Regions from separate parts of the Homo sapiens genome. Here region 2 is linked to region 1. The links are contacts of gene promoters, found by promoter capture Hi-C in human tissues and cell types (Jung and others, 2019). All regions are on one chromosome and are shown on one strand. The core of a region is centred on a gene start or on the middle of the fragment in contact, and the rest is flanking DNA. Distances in the headings are between cores, read along the strand shown.

Region 1 (5,006 bases), core at 1,716-4,215:
AAAAACCCTCCAGATTTGCTTGAATTTGTCATTGGCCAAATCATATTCACCAGAAATTACCTAGGTAGGTTTTTAGGTTGGGTGATATTTTTCGAAGGAATGGTAAAGAGCATGGAGATGAGATAAACGAAAACCTACAAACTCTCCCAGTTATACAACTCACATAACCTGCAATGATGTCTGGAATTCTATGGGGCCCAAAGTAACAACAACAATGATGATGATGATAAGATTAAGATCTTACTACATACCAGGCACCCTTCTGCATACATTAAATATATTCAACAACCCTATTAATATCCCCATTTTGCAGGTGAGAAAAACAAGGCATAGAAAAGCTAAGTAACTTGCCCAAGATCACACATCTTGCTCCGTGAACACAGAGGAGGAAATGTAACTGGAAATGCCAAGCCCCCGTGCGGTCTGCCTGCCAGTGATGGAAACCTGACATGGGAGGGCAGCCACCACAGGAACCTGGGTTATGTTTCCAGTGTTGCCATTTGGGCAACAGTCTTCACATTCTCTTACTGAAAACATTAATCAATGCTCAGGTTCCAAGTAATCAAACATTAACCGAGACTCCTAACAGCCAGTTCCTTCTCAGACTAGCCCCACGGAGGTTTCCTAGATCTCGGGTAGCGATGGAACACTGGTTGATTCTCCTGGAACTGCCTTCAACTATTTAAGAAAAATCAGAGGGGAAAGCAGCTTTGAAGGAAATGTGCAAAGTAAAGCTATATGTGGGAGGCAGCAGTTCTAGTAAACGCACAGAACTCACAGCTGTGATTTTTCTTTTAAAGACATATAAATAAAAAGGAGTCCTCACTGGTGTAAATTACTCCTGCCTTTTTTTTTTCTCCACTTTTTTCAACTGCTCACATTTTGGAACTGTGTGAGCAAGTTTTTACATATTGATCAATCTTTTAAAGTTTATACATCATTTTCTTAAAGAAGGAAACAAAGATCAAGCTGAAAAGAACATTCAGGCAAAAGAGAAAAATTACATGATGAATGAATGCAGTCTTTGTGGGCGAGAATTCTGGGATGGGAGTGTGGGGTGTAGGGACAGCTTTCAAACACTTACTCAAATGTGCTTATCTTCATCATTTCCTGCCTCTAATTTTTACCGAATAACCACCTTGAGATCCCAGGAATTCAATAGGAAACTCAATTTAACAACAAGTTCCAGGGTATTCCACATAATCTCTCTTTAAGGCAAAGTCCCAAAAGAGAGATGGGACTATAATGACCACAAGTTAGGTGACTTTTCATATTCACATTCCTTCCACGTTCTTCGACAATCCTGGTCCAGTTACTTACTGTGGACCCTGTGTGCTTTACTTTCCTCTGCTATATAATGAGAATAATATTAACACCTTCTTTATCCGGTTGGTGTGAAAACTGCATGAATAAATGTAAAGCACTTGGACTGTGTCTGACACAGAGTAAAATGCTCGAATAGCATCAGCTGTTATTACTACTACTACTTACTACTATTATTTGCAAAAACATTACAAGGGATAATTATATCCAGGAAGCTTCCCTTGTATTGGTAATGTTTTATTGCTTTTTCTAAAATTTAAATCAGAGCAACAGTCAATACATGCACACAAAAAAGGCAATTCTTCAAAAATGTGGGGGAAAAGCCTCCCATACCCATGTTACCTGCTGGTGAGTTTCAGGTAAGGGTGTAGCTGGGAGCATCCGGTTCCAAGACTGCCTTGTATTTCTCTTACAGGATGCCTCCCCTTCTGCTGCGGTTTTTAATCAGCGTTTCTAGGGCAGGCTTGCAGGCGGGGCCGCGAACCCCCTGTAGTTGTACACGGAGCTGGGTGAGGCTGCGGCTCTGGGCATTTCTGGGGAGGAGTTCCATGGCTTTCCACAGACTCTAACCACCCTGCAGCGAGCCGCATGCTATACGGGTTAAACTCGGGGCATATCGAACGAACAATTCACTTCACGGAAGACTAGCAATAACCAGGACACCTGCGCTATTGATCAGCTATCTCAACACCAGAGAGACCCACCAGCACAAGGGGCAAGAATTGGCCAGGAGGCGCGCGGCGCTGCGCCCTCACCGCGTCCAGACAGACCCTTGAACTTCACCGCCAAAAAACGCACCGCTCCGCAGACCCGACCCGGGAGAGGGGTTTAACTTCCCCTCACCTTTCCCATCCCTCCTTCATTTCCAAGGACATACTCAAAGGAAACTGGCAACACTCGGTCTAGGGTTTCGCTCCTGCCCTCGGCGGACACCGAAACCACTTCTCCCAGGGAAGTTAATTAAAGGAACCATTAATCCGCCCAAAAATCCAAAACCTACCCCCAAAGCTCAAGAGCTCTGAAAAGAGATCGAGGGCGCCTCTGCCGATCTTGAACATCTCTGCTCGTCGCTGGGGCTTAGAGGTGGGCAGGGGGTGCCAAAGGGGCGCAGGCAAGACCCGGCCAGAGGGTTAGACGCCGGCCCCCGTTCCGAGGCGGCCCAGTCTACACGCCAGCGACGCCGGCTGAGCCGGGCTTGGAGGCAGCCAGGTAAGCAGGTAGGTGTAGGCATGTGTCTGAGCAGACACACAGCTGCGGCGGATTAAAGTTCAAGCCCGTTCACACTCCGCTTCCCCTTCCCAGGTGTTCTCACGCACGGCCCAGGCAGCCACTTTCCCGGGGAAGCCTCGGCGCTCGACCGGACAGTCCCCTCTTTGTCATTCTTAATGACTCCCCTTGCCTCCCAGGCGCCAACCCATTGAGACTACTCGCTTCTCTCCACTCTCCCAGGCGGGCGCAGAAACCCCCGGAAAGGGGAACTCGGCGGGGACCGGGGGAAGCAGGGTGTCGCGCGGCGCAGGGGGCGCCGCAGCCGGCGTACGTACCCAGAGCGAACAGGGCGAGCTGTCCAGCCGAGGGGACCATTTTACGGGCGGGCGGGCAGCAGGCTCTCCAGCCTCCTGCCCTACCTGCGGTGCCCGAGTGGCGGAGCGGCGCCGCGGTGCGGGGGAAAAAGACGCAGACTAGGCAGGGCCTGCCCCCGGCGCGGGAGGGCGGAGGGAGGACCGAGCGCCTCTCTGCTGGCACTCGCCCCGCAGCGCTGCCCGCCGGGCGGAAATAGGAAGGCGGCTACCGTCACCTCCTCGCCACTCGGCGACCGGGGCACAGCTGACCCCCCCCTCCCGCCCCGATGGGGGTGCCCCCCTGAGGGCACAGAGGGTGGGGGTTTGGGGTAAGGGGCGGGGACGCTGAGCGCACCGAGCAGGGCGCGGGCTGCTGGGCGGGGCGACCTGGGATCCCAGAGCCTGGCGGCGCGAGCCGGGCACCCGGGCCGACGAAAAGGCAGGAAGCGCCTGACTTCAGACACCACCCCCGACTGCCAGCGCCGTGCGGCAGCGGACTCCAGCGTGCGGGGTCGGCGCCGGCCGCGTAGCCGGATTGTCCTGGGCCGCAGTGGCGGCTTCCAGGCTCTAGGCGGCGGAGCGGAGCCGCCCGGGCACCCGTTACCTACACCGAGGGGCCGCTCCTGGGGCATCTCTGGGGCGGGGAAGGCTGGAGGCTGGGGACGCAGCCAGGAAAGGGACCTGTGAGTTTCGCCGGCCGCTTGCCAAGACTTGGCTCAAGGAAAGTGGTCCCCTGAATCAATGAAGAATTTGTTAAACCAGGTTTCCCACCTGTGCCACAGTTCCCATCAATTCTGGCAACGCCTGCCGCCTTACCTCCCAGGCAGGCCACATCGTTAAGATCAGTCTTCGTACTTCTGGCCTGGGACTGATAAAAAATGGGTCTCTGTGACGAATCTGGTTATATGGCACCACCAGCTGAGGCCAAAAGCCTGCTAGCCTGCCACCAAGTGTACCCCGAAAGAGGGGTGTGTGGGCCCGAGTCACCTGGGTGGTCCTTTCAGGATTTGTGGCTCTGAGGTGGCCCCTGGTGCTGGAATTTGGGGAGGTGGAGGGGATAGAGGGAAGACATTCTGGGCGAAGAGTGGAAGATCCATAGGTTCCTCGGTGACCCTCATGGGGACAGTACACCCGGGAGATTCATGTTCTCCAGGTACCCGGAGCTCACGGACTGACCCTCTTCTCCTGCCTCCTCTGGCCTACGTGCTCCGGGTAGATCCACTTTCCTTGAAGGTGGGGGTGGGGGCTGTTGGGCCTGGGGAATCTTTTGCTGTTTACTTGGGGAGGCTCAGGCTCTCACGGTTGACCTCTGCCCAGTTTGTTTCATGTAAGTAGAGCAACCTAGTTTCAAGAAGGAAGCACCAGGCCATTGGTCTCAACATTTGGGCAGGAAGCACCAGTGTAAATCATTCCTTTCAATAGATTTGTCGGAGCATACTTTGTTCTTTTAGGGTAAATCTTTTCCTTGGTCCACCCCATGCATGTACAAGGCACACATGCACTTCCTTTAGTAGGTTGTCCCTGACTCCCACTTCCTTCAGGTTGATCTTGACCTGCTCTGGTGGTTTCCCTGTCTCCTCCCTAAACTAGTCTGCTTTGGCTACAGAAGGGGAGGAATCAGGGGTTCCCCCACCCTTCTCCTGTTCCCCAGGACTAGAGAAGGACCTGACTCCTTGCTTCCTACTGGAACACGCAAATCAAGCTCACTGTGGCTGAGGGATGGCTGCCCAGCCGGCTGAGGGTCATGTTCAGCAGTTTCTGCTTATCTGTCCCCTACCCCCAAAGTCAGAGGTGGAGGGAAGTAGCAGAATCAAGTCAATTTCCTTCATGATTGGAAAATATTTTAAATCAAGAGGTAACTTGCAGGCCAGGCATGGTGGCTCACACCTGTAATACCATCACTTTGGGAGGCTGAGGTGGGTGGATTGCTTGAGCTCAGGAGTTCGAGACCAGCCTGGGCAACATGGTAAAACCCCCCATTTCTACTAAACATACAAAAAATTAGCCAGACATGGTGGCGTGCGTCTGTAGTCCCAGCTACTTGGGAGGCTGAGGCACGAGAATCACTTGAACCTGGGAGGCAGAGGTTGCAGTGAGCCAAGATTGTGCCACTGCACTCCA
Region 2 (5,006 bases), core at 1,040-3,539, 160 kb before region 1:
CTGCTCAATCCAAAGCCTCACAGCACTCTGTCAGCTTACCTATTGCAACAGGTACTGGCCCATGTGTTATTCTGGCTTATACTGTGGCCCCATCCTAAACATTGCTCACCTGAAATTGGAGGCCACTAAATATTTTCCTGATGAGTGCCCAGTGATTTCATCTTTTGTCATATGCCTCCCTTTGATTCTGTTCAGCTCATTGCAGTTTCATAAAAAATATTTCCTGTGTATTCAGAGCCATATACAGAACACTATATATGACACAGTGTCATATACTAAAGAACTACATGACCCAGTCCTAGACTCCAGGGAGCTTACAGTTTTCCCAGGAAGACAAGATACTTACATGAAATAGTCTGAGAATAGTCAAGACAAAAAAGCCATGGCCTCTGTTGGGCTGAACAGAGGCTCAAGTGCTCAAATGGATGATACAGTCAGTAAATTTCAAGACTGGTGAGGTGGGAGAGAGATCAGAGATGGCTGCAATTTTCAAGAAAGACTTCAAGGAGAGGACATGGGCCTTGCTTTGTTCTTGGCATTTTAAAATGGGACCAGTGATACTAAGTTTATGCAGCAATTCAGGCTCTTAAAGGATCAGGAAGAATTCCTTAGACTCTTTTAGAAGTGGGACATTGGGTTAAGGGAGAAAGGTTTTAGGAGAGGTAATAATTAGTAGAGAGAGGGGCAGAAATGGAAAGTAGACTTGAGCAAACAGCCTGTTTAATTTGGACTGTGTGAGATGGTTTCCCAACAAACATCCCTTTTCTTTCTCCCTCCCGTGCCTTCTTCAGTTTCTAGACCCTGACGTCATGACACGGTGCAGCTGCAGTTATGTATCTTTTCCTTTCTGCTTGACCCCCCAGCTTAAGTACCACTTTCTTGGCACCCACAATGGAGGGCGCTGCCAGTGGCACAGATGAGAGATTGATTTTGGACTGCCAGCTCTGATGGAAAGCTGAGGACTATTGCATGGCCTTCCCCGAGGCAGCCACTGGAAATGGTGTGGGGTGGCTCTTCTGAGAGGGTAGAATTTTGGATGCCTACCGAACCCTTCTCTAGCAAATGGAGACTGGTAGACATCCATCCTTCCTGAGTCAGTCAGAACTGTGACCCCTCTTCAGATGGAGTCCTAGGCCTCATTCCCTTCCAAGAGGATAGAGATGACATTGTCTTGGGAGTTAATGTAATAGGTAAGCTGGTGAGGTTGAGGGTTCAAGAAGATAGAGTGGTGCTGGATGGAGTAATGGCCCATGTCAAGCTATTATAGGAAACCACACATTTAACAAGGGAGAACTGATATATATATTTTTTAACACCCTTGGGAGAACCACCTCCTGGGAGGATACCAGGAACCCACCATAACCTTTATTATTGAAAATATCAGGAGGGATTCTGGGTGAGCTTTGGTCTTTCCTAGGTGGAGGATGCACATGACCTAAGGAAGTGGCACCTTGTGCCCAGAGCTCTGGCACACTTCTGTAAACTAATTCACCCATGCCTACTTCTTCCCAAGACAGGTGAAAGGTAGGAAAGACCCACAGAGGGGAGACCGCAAGTTGAATGAAAGCCCAAGTTGATTTCCTTTTGTGATGCTGCCACCATCTATATCATTCGTGGCAGGTAAAGGCTGCCATGCCTGGTCTCCACTTCAGTTGTTCTGATCTGACTCTGATAGCATGTCAGGGAGAGATGACCTCAGTGACCCAGTCAGCTCAGAAAGGCAGTTTTGCTGCTTTCCAGGAGGTAACTGAATAATCCAAGTCTGATAGGAGAATCTGGGCTGGATGGTTTTCCTTGTGAAATTTTGACTTAAGAGAAAAAAACAAGCAATTTACTAATTTTATGACCTTGTGAGAGGCAGTATAGCATAGTGGCGAAGGTCAGGGGCTTTGAATAGACTTGGTTCAAGTCCACAGCTTGTATCCCTTGCTTAACAGCTGTATAACCTAGACCAAATTGCTTAGCTTCTACAAGCCTCAGTTTCTTCATCAGTAAAATAGGGATAATACAAATCTGAGATGCTTTAAGAACTTGATAAGATAATATATACATAGCACATGGTGATCAATCAGTAAATGATAGCCAATAGTAATCATTATTAATTACAACTAAGTTTTGGATAGGGAGGATATTTGGTAGGTTTAATGAGATGGGCCTTTTGGCAAAGAAATTCATGATAATACTTGTTATTTAAAACAAATAAACAAAGGTATAACTAGGATAGATGCCCTTGACCTCCCCTATCCTGGTCATACCAGGCAATAACCTCTGACCCCTGGGCAGCAGACTAGGGCTGGCGACCTGGCTTACCCCACCCCAGGACCATGAAAGCACAGTACCTTTTGTCTTGCTGGTGTCTAACAAAGAAGGTCCAAGATGGAAACTATAATATGTGCACTCAAAGAATGTTTACTGATCTCCTGCTGTATGTCAGACACTTTTAGGAGCTGGGGACCCAGCAGTGAATAGGCAACATCCTTGACCCCATGGAATATACATAAACAATTTAATTAACAAGGTCATTTCCAATGGTGATGAGGGCTGAGACATCTTGTTTTCAGACTGATGTGTTGGAGTCTTTTCCTCCTGATAACGTTGAATGTCATTTCAAGGCCACCAGGGCTGATTCTATTGTGCCTACCTGTGCACACACAAGACTTGTGGGCTAAGCTTCTGGCTGGTCAGACACCAAGGCCCCATGTCCTCTGAGAGACAGAGTTCACTGACTGTGGGAGAGCCTTGGAAAATTCTGTTTCCCTCCTCCTGGGATCATGTTAACAGCACTTATATCCCAAACGGCCCCTTTGCAAATAAAATCAGATGTTTCTGCCCGACTCAATACTTCCTTGTCTTTCACTGGGCAGGTCTCTGTGCCATTTGAGGGCTTAAAATTTTGTAGAGCCCTTGGGATTGGATGTTTATTAGTCAAACAGAAATATGTTCCCTCTTTTTTTCCTTCATGTAGAAATGTATCTCTGGAAACATATACCAACCACTGCCAAATGCCTGGGAGTCAGGAACAGCACTACCTGCCAAGTCTTTAAAGTTTAATTCACTGCCATCCAAAGTGCAAATTAGGGAGCTGGCTCTTCTGATGTTTGGATCTGTGACACAGGAAGCTGAGTGGAACCTGAATTAGAGGTCAGGGGGCCCCAAGTTCTCTGGAGGTTATTAGTCATGAACATTGGGCAAATTACCAAATATCTCTGGGGCTCAGTTTTCTCATCTGTGAAATGGGGCAATTCAAAAGTTGCTGTGGAAGGTAAAACAAGATAAAGGCTACCTTCAGTGCCTCAGGTGTGAAGCAAGCAGGCTATCAGCAGAGGAGGAGCCAGCTAGAGGGTGAGCTAGGGCTACAGGGACCAAGAGGTAGTGGCATTTGGATGTTAGAATCTTAGAGGACACAGTGACCTTCAGTTTGGGCAAGGTTATGCCAGCATCTTTAGAGTTGTGGCTAGTGACTGAGGTGAGGCAATAGGAGGTTCTGAGTGAGGCCCTAGTTCTAGAGATGTGTGTGGGAGGCAAAGCAGGGTTATAGCCAGCAGGAGAGGGTTAAGGTAGAATGTACCAGGTCCCAGAGAGGGGGCTAGTGAATACTAGGTGAGGAGTGAGAGCGAGAACATGTTAGACAAGGAGTCAGGGCTAGTGTATGCTAGGCAAGGAGTCAAGGCTAGAGCGTGCTAGACAAAGAGTCAGGGCTAGTACATGCTAGACGAAGAGTCTGAGCTACAGCATGCTAGACAAGGAGTCAGGGCTAGTGCATGCTAGACAAAGAGTCAGAGCTAGTACATGCAAGACAAGGAATCAGGGCTAGTACATGCTAGACAAAGAGTCAGAGCTAGTACCTGCTAGACAAGGAGTCAGGGCTAGTGCATGCTAGACAAGGGGTCAGGGCTACTGCATCCTAGACAAGGGGTCAGCGCTAGTGCATGCTACATAAGGAGTCAGGGCTAGTGCATGCTAGGCAAGGAGTCAGGGCTAGTGCATGCTAGATAAGGAGTCAGTGCTAAAGCATGCTAGGCAAGGAGCCAGGGCTAGTGCATGCTAGGCAAGGAGTCAGTGCTAGTGCATGCTAGGCAAGGAGTCAGGGTTAGTGTATGCTAAACAAGGTGGGTTGGGGCCCACTTTTAGCCTCATCAAGGGTATACTCAGAAACCCAAGGCAGAGGATGAGTTTTTGGCCTGAAGGCCTTTGTTCAGTGTCAGAGGGAAGATTACAGGTTGCAGTTTGGGGCTGTACTAATTTAAGGCAGCAAGAACAATTCAGGAACCCACCTGTGCAGTGGGGGAAGGGGAGAAGAGGGTGGGGATTGGACCCTAATATACTGCCAGGTCTAGTTAAGGTCAGTTCAGGGCTTGCCATGTTCTGTCAACATGATTCCATATACTCTTCACATGACCTATGACATAGATATGGTCTTTATTTTACAGATGAGAAAAATGAGCCCCAGGGAGATAACTTGCCCAACATCTCACAACTGGTAAGAGGTACAGCCAAAACGAAAACCCGGGTCTGTCCTATGCCAAAGACTACCCTTTTAACTCCTGGAGACTGGGCTGTGATCTCTCCCTTCTTTGAGAAATATGTTCTTAAATTAACAATCTTGTTCACAGCAAAGTAATGGCACATGAAGGAAATCTAAGGCCTGTGTATCTAGCACTTAGACCAGGGCCCTTTCCTCTCACTGTTCCCTCAAGTACCATGGCCTTTGCAGCCCTCCTTGTCCCCAACCCAATTTGGCATTAAAACTTTTTTGGAAACACATATTCGTTCTATCTCTGGATGACTGAAAATAGAAATTAAAGCTGAAGAGACTTCTGTTCGAAACAAGGAAAACCTTGTCAGCAAGGAACAGAAAATTTTTTGAGTGAGAATGACATACAGGTGTGGAGTCGCTTTGCTTTGAGGTTTTTCTGAAGAAAATAGACTATAGCTGCTGTTTTTTGTTAGTTCAGGGTGACTAAAATCCATCAGTGACATCAACCAAGACCCAAACTAAGTTTTTA

The links. Contacts are between HindIII fragments. The study calls those that stand out against the background at their distance.
Region 2: a contact is called between a fragment that was not itself captured here and the fragment with the promoter of TGFA in region 1, in 1 of the 25 tissues and cell types used here (thymus).

What each region holds. Positions count from the first base shown.
Region 1 is chr2:70,550,861-70,555,866 of GRCh38, forward strand. It overlaps TGFA (transforming growth factor alpha), which reads right to left and starts at 2,966. Exons shown (of 6, transcript NM_003236.4): 1 at 2,868-2,966. The coding sequence starts at 2,907. It overlaps LOC124907824 (a long non-coding RNA gene), which reads left to right and starts at 1,848. Exons shown (of 2, transcript XR_007086906.1): 1 at 1,848-2,532. RefSeq lists a silencer at 3,027-3,096. The HindIII fragment of the contact is 16,400 bases long and covers 445-5,006 here.
Region 2 is chr2:70,388,208-70,393,213 of GRCh38, forward strand. No RefSeq gene overlaps it. Among named protein-coding and RNA genes, the nearest start is that of FAM136A, 89 kb to the left of the region's middle. The HindIII fragment of the contact is 6,530 bases long and covers 1-5,006 here.